Linked DNA regions of Homo sapiens: region 1 is linked to region 2. The links are contacts of gene promoters, found by promoter capture Hi-C in blood cells and fetal thymus (Javierre and others, 2016). All regions are on one chromosome and are shown on one strand. The core of a region is centred on a gene start or on the middle of the fragment in contact, and the rest is flanking DNA. Distances in the headings are between cores, read along the strand shown.

Region 1 (4,762 bases), core at 2,228-4,727, 390 kb before region 2:
TACTCAATAGAATATCATTCAGCCATAAGAAATAATGAAATCGGGCAGGCGTGATGGCTCACGCCTGTAATCCCAGCACACTGGGAGGCCAAGGCGGGCAGATCACCTGAGATCGGGAGTTCGAGACCAGCCTGACCAACATGAAGAAGCCCCCGTCTCTACTAAAAATAAAAAAAAATTAGCCAGGCATGGTGGTTCATGCCTGTAATCCCAACTACTCAGGAGGCTGAGGCAGGAGAATCACTTGAACTGGGGAGGCGGAGGTTGTGGTGACCCAAGATTGCGCCATTGCACTCCAGCCTGGGCAACAAGAGCAAAACTCCGTCTCAAAAAAATAAAAAATAAAAAAAGAAAGAAAGAATGAAATCCCATCCTTTGCAGAAACATGGATGGAACTGGAGGACTGGAGGACATTATGTTAAGTGAAATAAACCAGACACAGAAAGACAAATATTGCATGTTCTCGTTCCTACGTGGGAGCTAAAAATCATCATCATCATTATCTAATGGAGGTAGAGAGCAGAATGACAATTACCAGAGGCTGGAAAGGATAGTGGGGAAGGGGGATAAAGAGGGATTGACTGGTTGGTACAAAAACCACAGTTAGATGGAAGGAATGAGATCGAGTGCTCAGTAGCACAGTAGGGCAACTACCTATGAGTCAGGACATGTGACATTTGTCTTTCTGTGCCTGGTTTGTTTCACTTAATGACCTCCAGTTTCATCCATGTTGCTGCAAATTGTGGAATGTCATTCTTTTTATGGCCGAATAGCAATCCGTTGTGTATGCAGACCACATTGAGTTCAACCATTCATCTGTTGACGGACACTGAGGTGGATTCCATATCTTGACTATTGTGAATAGTGGAGTTGGGTTTTTTATCAAAGAAAGATGGGAGTCATGGGAGGATTTCGAGCAGAGTAGGGACACAACATAAGGTTTTAACATGAGCCTTCTGGCCACTGGTTGGAAGACGAACTATAGAAGATCAGAAATAAACTGACCAAGGAGGGGGTGACTGCACTTGTCCAGGTGAAAGATGTCAGTAGATACAACCCAGAGGGAATCAATGAAGGGAATGCAATTCAGGATTTTTTTAAAGCAACACTAACAAAATTTGCCGATGGATTGGATGTGAGGAGTGAAAAGAGAGGAACCAACGATAATGCCAACATCAATTAGGAGTATGGAAAAACTAAAAAGTATCATAAAAACAGAAGGAATGGATTATCGTGATTGTGACATTATTCACCCTGTTTTTGTTACACATTTGGTTTTGAGATCTACGTTCTTTGCTCCTATAATGTGCCTTGTTTATTTCCCTTCCCTGCATGAGGCCTCAGATGGTATCTCTCTTCTCATTTCCAGCTTCCTCTTTCATCTGTAGAGGCAACATTTCTCTATGCAGACTTCCGGCATTTTATCACTTGTGGTCTCTTAATGCTGTAAGTTTCCCATCATTCTCTTCCACTAGCCCTCTCCCTCACAACTGAAACCCACCAAGGTCAGAGTAACAACCCGGTCTTGTGGGACTAGGTACCTGTCCACCTCCCCATCTCATCTCCTGCCCTGTGTCATCAGTCACACTCACCTTCGCTCGGTCCTCCAAATTCTTTCCAACCTCAGGACCTTTGCACCCACCGTTCTGGCCACCAGACATGCCCTATCCCACCCTGCCCCTTTGCCTGGGTAACATCAATTCATCCATCCTTTAAGTCCACTGGAACATCACTTCCTTGAGAAAATTTTCCCAACCATCTCAATAAAGCCCTTTTGAAAAAGTCCTACAAAGGGGCCAGGCGCAGTGGCTCATGCCTGTAATCCCAGCACTTCGGAAGGCTGGGGTGAGCAGATCACCTAAGGAGTTCAAGACCAGCCTGGTTTCTAGTGAAACCCCGTCTCTACTAAAAATACAAAAAAATTAGCCAGGCGTGGTGGCGGGCGCCTGTAGTCCCAGCTACTCGGGAGGCTGAGGCAGGAGAATGGCGTGAACCTGGAAGGCGGAGCTTGCAGTGAACCGAGATCGCACCACTGCACTCCAGCCTGGGCAACAGAGCGAGAATCTATCTCAAAAAAAAAAAAAAAATGTGAAAGATGAGCTGTTAACACAATATAGACCAAGTTGCTAAGTTGCCCAAAGAAGAACCAGGAAACAGAGACACTGGGAACAGTTGTATTAGTCTGTTTTCATGCTGCTAATAAAGACATACCCGAGACTAGGTAATTTATAAGGGAACGAGGTTTAATTTGACTCACTGTTGCACATGGCTGGGGAGGCTTCACAATCATGAGGAGCAAAATTATGTCTTACTTACATGGCAGGAGGCAAGAGAGCTTGTGCGGGGATCTCCCATTTATAAAACCATCAGATCTCGTGAGACTTACTCACTACCACGAGAACAGTATGGGGGAAACCATCCCCCATGATTCAATTATCTCCAACTGGCCCCGCCCTTGACACGTGGGGATTCTTACAATTTAAGGTGAGATTTGGGTGAGGACATAGCCAAACCATATCAACAACTACGAACTGACAATGTCTTTCTTCCTTTATCCAGCAAGAGTTTATGTAGATGAGAGTATTTAACAAAACATAAAGAAGTCACTTTTTTTTTGCACATTGAGTTGTAGTTTGAGTAAATTCCATCCCTACTCTCACTACACTACCATTTATAAAGCTCATACTACATACCAGGTGGTTTCCAAAGCTACCTCTTTGAATTAAAGTTTCACAACATCCCTATTGTTATCTGTATTTCACAGCTTGGGAAACTGAAGTTCAGAGAGGTTATGTGACTTATCTGAGATCACACAGCAATTCTAAGCACAAAGGAAAGAGCCTGAAGTGAGAATCAGGAGACTTGCATGTTAACCCTTGCTCTGCCGCTAACTAGCTCCCAGCAAGCATCTGGATGAGGCTCAGCTTCCTGGGATGTTTCCCCGGGGAGAAAACTTTCTCTACCCCTTCAGGCATCTGCATTCTCTCTGGCCAACTTACCCTTTGTGTTTGGTTTCCGTGTGGGTCTTATGTGCCCTTCCCAGCTGTGCATAACACAACATCCTGTGAAGAAAGAAAAGAAAAACACCATGAACCACCAAAAAAAAAAAAAAAAAAAAAAACCTTTTGGGCTCAACCTGCAAAATTACTCCTGGCTTGGCCCCACAGAAATAGGTTTGAAGAGGCTAGATGACAAACCTAGTTAAGGAACAAACATACACTATTTTGCATAAGCTTAACAATGACCATTCCTGGTTTTCTGTACTTTGCTTTTGCTTTTCATTTTGTCTGTCTTTATCTTCTTTTTCTTTTTGATTAAATAGTTCCAGGCTAAGCACTGTGGTGCACACCTATAATCCCAGCCCTTCGGGAGGCCAAGGTGGGAGGATCACTTGAGACCAGCAGTTTGACACCGGCCTGGACAACACAGTGAGACTTTGTCTCTACAAAAAAAAAATTTTTTAAATTAGCTGGGTGGTGGTGACAACTTGTAGCCCCAGCTACTCAGGAGGCTGAGGTGGAAGGATTGCTTGAGCCCAGGAGATAGAGACTGCAGTGAGCCAAGATCATGCCACTGCGCTCCAGCCTAGGTGACCCTGTCTAAAAAAAAAAGTTCTAGCTGATTTTCAAAAACATACATTAAAGCATGCATTCTCAAAAGGGGTGATATATCCTCTAAGGACCCAAACTTGGTTCTCAGGAAGAGATCTTTTTAAGCTTACTCTTTTATGTATAAGATACATATGTATATATAGAAAATACATATATAGGTATACAGTATATCTGTAGTATTAACATTTCATGAGAGGGTAGGGCAATTCGTTTTTCTTTCCTTTTTTTTTTTTTTTTTTTTTTTGAGATGGAGTCTCACTCTGTCACCAGGCTGGAGTGCAGTAGCGTGATCTAGGCTCACTGCAACCACCAACTCCCTGGTTCAAGCTATTCTCCTGCCTCAGCCTCCCGAGTAGCTGGGATTACAAGCACGCACCACCACGCCCAGCTAATTTTTGCATTTTTAGTAGAAACGGGGTTTCTCCATGTTGGCCAGGATGGTCTCGATCTCCTGACCTCATGATCTGCCTGCCTCAGCCTCCTAAAGTGCTGGGATTACAAGCGTGAGCCACTGCGCCCTGCCCATTTTTTAGTGTTTAAAGGCAATGCAGCCCTGCAGCATTTAGGTCTCCTGCACCATCATCATTATCGCCATCATTATCACTATCATCATCACCATCATCATCTTCATCATCACCATCATCATCATCATTATTATCACCATCATCACCATTATCATCATCACCATCACCATTATCACCATCACCACCATCATCATCATCACCACCATAATCACCAACATCACCATCTTCATCGTCATTATCACACCATCATCACCACCATCATCATCATTATCCCTATCATCACCATTATCATCATCACCATCATCACCATCTTCATGGTCATTATCACACCATCATCATCACCATCATCTTCATTATCACTATCATCACCATTATCATCATCATCATCATCACCATCACCATCATCATCACCATTTTCATCATCACTATTATAACCACCACCATCATGATCATTATCATCACTATCATTATCACAACTCTTTGCTGATTATCTTCAGGGCAGAATAGGGAGTGTTAATGGTTAATACCATTGCCAACACCCCAAAATAACAACTCTGCATGCCTACATTTGATGTCCACAGGCCACCTATTTCTTCTAATGTAGCCTGCCAGTCAACAAGTCCCACA
Region 2 (5,079 bases), core at 987-3,486:
GCCCAGGAGTTCGAGGCTGCAGTGAGCCATGGCCATGCCACTGCACCCCAGCCTGGATGACAGGGCAAGAAATTAAAAAAAAAGAATTTGCTGGGCGCGGTGGCTCGCGCCTGTAATCCCAGCACTTTGGGAGGCCAAGGTGGGCAGGTCACGAGGTCAGGAGTTCGAGACCAGCCTGGCTAACATGGTGAAAGCCCGTCTCTACTAAAAATACAAAAATTAGCTGGTCATGGTGGTACGTACCTGTAATCTCAGCTACTGGGGCGGCTGAGCCAGGAGAATGGCTTGAACCCAGGAGGCAGAGGTTGCAGTGAGCCGAGATGGCACCACTGCACTCCAGCCTGGGTGACAGAGCAAGACTCTGTCAAAAAAAAAAAAAAAAAAAAAAAATTAGTGGCCATGGCAAATGTGAGGTCCCAACCACATGGCCAAGATGGCTTACCCCACCTCCCACCAGCAATACACCAAAGTCCTTGAGTGGGAAAGTCAAGGATGGGAGGCGAGGAGGAGACTTCCTGGGAGGGCGGGACTGGAGGCTGTCCAAGGAAGCAGCCCCAGGAGGCTTGACCTTCACATGAGGGGCAGCACAGGAAGTCCAGTCCAGCCTCTGATAATACTTAGACTCGAGAAAGATACAATTTATTGTTGACTCTGCAGGAGGGGAGACTATCGCCACCTTGTTAACTGGGTCATCGCATAATCAGACCCTGGAGGGTGGGCCTTCCTCACCACCCCAACTTGCAAATGTGAAATTCAGACACAGAGAGGAGCACCAGGGCAAGGTCATACACCTAATGCTACAGGAAATGCAGAGGCAAGGGAGATGGTGGGTAATAAATTATAATACTGAGCTGGGCGCAGTGGCTCATGCCTGGAATCCCAGCACTTTGGGAGGCTGAGGCAGGAGGATCTCTTGAGCTCAGGAGTTGGAGAGCAGCCTGGACAACATAGCGAGACCCCATCTCTACAAAAAATCTTGAAAATTAGCCAGGCGTGATGGCATGCACCTGCAGTCCCAGCTACTTGGGAGGCTGAGGTGAGAGGATTGCTTGAGCCCAGGACATTGAGGCTGCAGTGAGCTATGAGCATGCCACTGCACTACAGCCTGAGGGACAGAGCAAGACCCTGTCCGAAAATATATATATATAGGCCGGGCGCGTTGGCTCACGCCTGTAATCCCAGCACTTTGGGAGGCAGAGGTGGGCAGATGGCCTGAGGTCAGGAGTCTGAGACCAGCCTGAACAACATGGAGAAACTTTGTCTCTACTAAAAATACAAAAAAATTAGCCGGGCGTGGTGGCACATGCCTGTAATCCCAGCTACTCGGGAGGCTGAGGCAGGAGAATCGCTTGGACCTGGGAGGCTGAGGTTGTAGTGAGCCGAGATTGGGCCATTGCACTCCAGCCTGGGCGCCAAGAGCGAAACTCTGTCTCAAAAAAAAAAAAAAAAGGGTATAGATATAGATAAAGATAAATTACAATACTGGAGAGGAGGGGTGTTATTTTGGGAAAGCGAGGCAGCCCTGGGGACTCACTGTCCCCCTCCCAATATGAACCCAGCTGTCTTACTCCTCCACTCTCCTCCTTAGGCCAGGCTGGGGGTGACCCCACCTGGGACGAGCTCAATGCCCAGTAGAGGTGTACCAGGGGAGCCCACCAGCATCTGCACCCAATCATGGGAGGAAAATCGTGGTTTTACTATGCAGCTTCAGGACAAGCCCTCCAGGAACCTACCGCCCCCCACCCGCAAACCAGATCGCCGCTCCGGAGCCCCCAGCCCACTGGGAGGGCTCGCGGTTACTGCAAGGATTCTGGCGAATGAGGTCTAAATAGAATGAGAAGGGGGGCTGCGGACCGAGAAACTGAGGCAAGGCCTGGGGCGGGAGGGTGGAGGCTAAGGGGGAGGGGCAGGACTTCTCAGATGCCTGTTTACCAGGCGCTCCCCTCCCTTCCTCCGCCCAATTTCTGCGGGTGGCCAAGCCTGGCTGGGGGCTGGGACGGGGGAGACTGCACTGGTGGCTCCCTAAGGGGCCTCACCCCCAAGGCAGGGGTCGGAGCACGTGGCGTCCCGGACTTCTCTGGGAGGCCCCCTGGGGAGGGAGGTCCCTGCACCACCTCCCCCCACCCCAGCCCCCTCCATCATCCCGGGGCGGGACCAAGGGGCGGAGCGGGAGGGTGACCGGCCGTGACGCGTGCCCCGCCCGCTCATATAGCGGCTCCCGGGGGCGCAGGGACCGTGCTCCGCCGTCTCCGCCGCATCTTCCACCCTCGCCGCCGCCGCAGCTCCCCGCGCTCGTGCCACCGCCGCCGCGTCCACCCTCAGCGCCACCGCCATGCGGGAGATCGTGCACCTGCAGGCCGGCCAGTGCGGCAACCAGATCGGGGCCAAGGTGCTCGGGGAACGGGGCCCGGGGAGGCAGTGGCGGCCCCGGGGAGCACCGCGGGGTCGGTCCCCGGAGCACCCCGCAACCTGGGAGTCTTTGGAAAGGAATGAGGTCCCCAGGAGGCCAGCGCGCCCCAGGGGCCTTGGGGGAAGGGTCGCGGGGTGGGGGTGGCAGGGCCAGACTGGGAACAAAGAGGCTGCGGAGAGTGGGAGCCAGCCTTCTGTCCGCCTGTCACAGCTGGGCCCACAGCTGGGCCACTGTCCCCTCCTCACGCACAAAGAGCCCCGGTGCCTCCCCCGGGCTGCAGCCTGGGTGCGCTGGCACCAGCCGGCCCCGCTGGGTGCTGACTCGGCTGCACCCCGCCCCCACCGCTCCTTCTTGCTGCCTCATCCTCGCCCCGACACCATGCCTCTAGGTCCCCCGTTCACCTTGCTGGGGGAGAGGTGGCAGCTAGGGAGCTAGTTGGGGGCTGGGGGCAGTCCTCGGCTTGGCCACCGGCTTCCCCTCTCTCAACTCTTCCGACCACCTCTCTCTCTAGTTTTGGGAGGTTATCAGTGACGAACATGGCATCGACCCCACAGGCACATACCATGGGGACAGTGACCTGCAACTGGAGAGGATCAACGTGTACTACAACGAGGCCACAGGTAGGGCGAAGGAGGCACCTTCCAGGTGGGAAGGGGCAGCTGGGAGGGAACAGGATGCTACCGGGCGCCTGTGGTTCCTGGCACGCATCGAACTGCCCTCCATCTGTTTCCCTGCAGGAGGAAATTATGTCCCCAGAGCGGTGCTGGTGGACCTGGAACCCGGCACCATGGACTCTGTCCGTTCTGGCCCCTTCGGTCAGATCTTTCGGCCGGACAACTTCGTGTTTGGTGAGTCCCCCAGCAGGGAGCCAGAGGCTGGAAAACCTCCTTATTCCTGCTAACACCACAGAGTCAACAGCCACCACCGGGGCCCACAGACCAGAGATGGGGTGGACAGGGCACCAGGCACCAGCCCTGCATCCAGGGCTGTGATGAGGGGATGCTCAGGCCACTGTGAGAGCCCTGAGGAGGGCGGATACAGAGAAGGATTCAGGGAAGTCTTCCTGGAGGAGGTGGCATTTTAATTCAACGGTCTGAACCGGAACCAGACTGCCTGGGTGCACATCCCAATTCTGCCACTTCATGCATTCAACAAACAGTGAGCACTCACTGCATACCAGGCCCTGTTCTAGAAGCTGGAGATCCAGGTAAGAATCAAACAGCCGGAGCTCCCTCTCTGCCCCAGTGCAGCTCCCATTCTGGTAGAAGGTGATAGGCCACAAAGGAGATAAATAAGTAAAGCTCTGCCAGGGGTTGATTCAGATGGATAACTTAGGATGGGCTCCTCAGCCTTTCTGGGCCTCAAAAATCCTCTTTTTTTTTTTTTTTTCAGACAGGGTCTGTCTGTCCTGCTGTCACCCAGGCTAGAGTGCAGTGGCATGATCACGGCTCACTGTCACCTCCACCTCTGGGCACACGTGATCCTCTTGCCTCAGTCTCCCAAGTAGCTGGACCTACAGGCATGCACCACCACACCCAGCTAATTTTTTAGTTTTCTTTGTAGAGAGGTGGGTCTCTCTATGTTGCCCATGCTGGTCTCAAACTCCGGGACTCAAACGATCCACCCAACTCAGCTCCCAAAGTGCTGGATTACAAGCATGAGCCACCTTGCCCGGCCTCCTCGTCTTTAAAACAGGGATTTCACTGGGCATGGTGGTTCATGCCTATAAACCCAGGACTTTGGGAGGCTGAGTCAGGAAGAGAGCTTGAGGTCAGGAGTTCGAGACCAGCCTGGGCACCATGGTGAGACCCTGTCTCTACAAAAAGAAAAAAATTTTAATTAGCTGAGTGAGGTGGTGTGCACCTGTAGTCACAGCTACTCGTGAGGCTAAGGTAGGAGAATCACTTGAGCCTGGGAGGTTGAGGCTGCCATGAGCTATGATGGTGCCACTGCACTCCAGCCTGAGCGATGGTGTGAGACCCCATCTCTAAAAAAGATCAAATAAAACAGGGATTCTAAAATGCTATTAGAATTGTGAGGCTCAGGGTGGGCACGGTGGCTCACACCTGTAATCCCAGCACTTTGGGAGGCCGAGGCGGGTGGATCACCTGAGGTCGGGAGTTTGAGACCAGCCTGACTAACATGGAGAAACCCCATCTCTACTAAAAATAAAAAATTAGCCAGGCATGGTGGCACATGCCTGTAATCCCAGCTACTCGGGAGGCTGAGGCAAGAGAATTGCTTGAACGGCAGAGGTTGTGGTGAGCCAAGATCATGACACTGCACCCCAGCGTGGGCAACAAGAGTGAAACTTCGTCTCCAAAAAAAAAAAAAAATTGTGAAGCTTAAAGTCATGAATATGTGTAGAGTTTAGAACAATGCCTGACACAGAGAAAGAGGTAAATAAGCATTTGTCGTTGTTTTCATTACTATCTGCAGTCTAGAATGTGAGTAGGATTTGGACTGGCCAAAGGGCATGGAAGGGAGGAAAGATGTTTAAGACGGAGGCAACAGCATATGTGAAGATAGTGGGGTGTCCACACCCTGGGACAATCCTTCCGGGAAAGCTTTCCTGGCTCCAGCTGGCTGCATGTCCCCACCCTGGCTCCACCCGCCTCCAATACTCCCAGCATGTAAGACGTGCTAAATGCAGGACCTGTCCTGCCTCT

Evidence for each region. Contacts are between HindIII fragments. The CHiCAGO score rates a contact against its expected background, and 5 or more counts as called.
Region 1: a fragment that was not itself captured here is called in contact with the fragment with the promoter of TUBB4A in region 2 in 1 of 17 cell types (activated CD4 T cells); the score reaches 5.4 in activated CD4 T cells.

The regions. Positions count from the first base shown.
Region 1 is chr19:6,888,781-6,893,542 of GRCh38, reverse strand. ADGRE1 (adhesion G protein-coupled receptor E1) reads right to left here. Exons shown (of 21, transcript NM_001974.5): 2 at 3,000-3,062. Among named protein-coding and RNA genes, the nearest start is that of ADGRE1, 3.6 kb to the right of the region's middle. The HindIII fragment of the contact is 483 bases long and covers 3,236-3,718 here.
Region 2 is chr19:6,499,466-6,504,544 of GRCh38, reverse strand. It overlaps TUBB4A (tubulin beta 4A class IVa), which reads left to right and starts at 2,236. Exons shown (of 4, transcript NM_006087.4): 1 at 2,236-2,389; 2 at 2,922-3,030; 3 at 3,148-3,258. The coding sequence starts at 2,333. RefSeq lists silencers at 1,980-2,249, 2,260-2,439, 2,610-2,719. The HindIII fragment of the contact is 23,046 bases long and covers 1-4,756 here.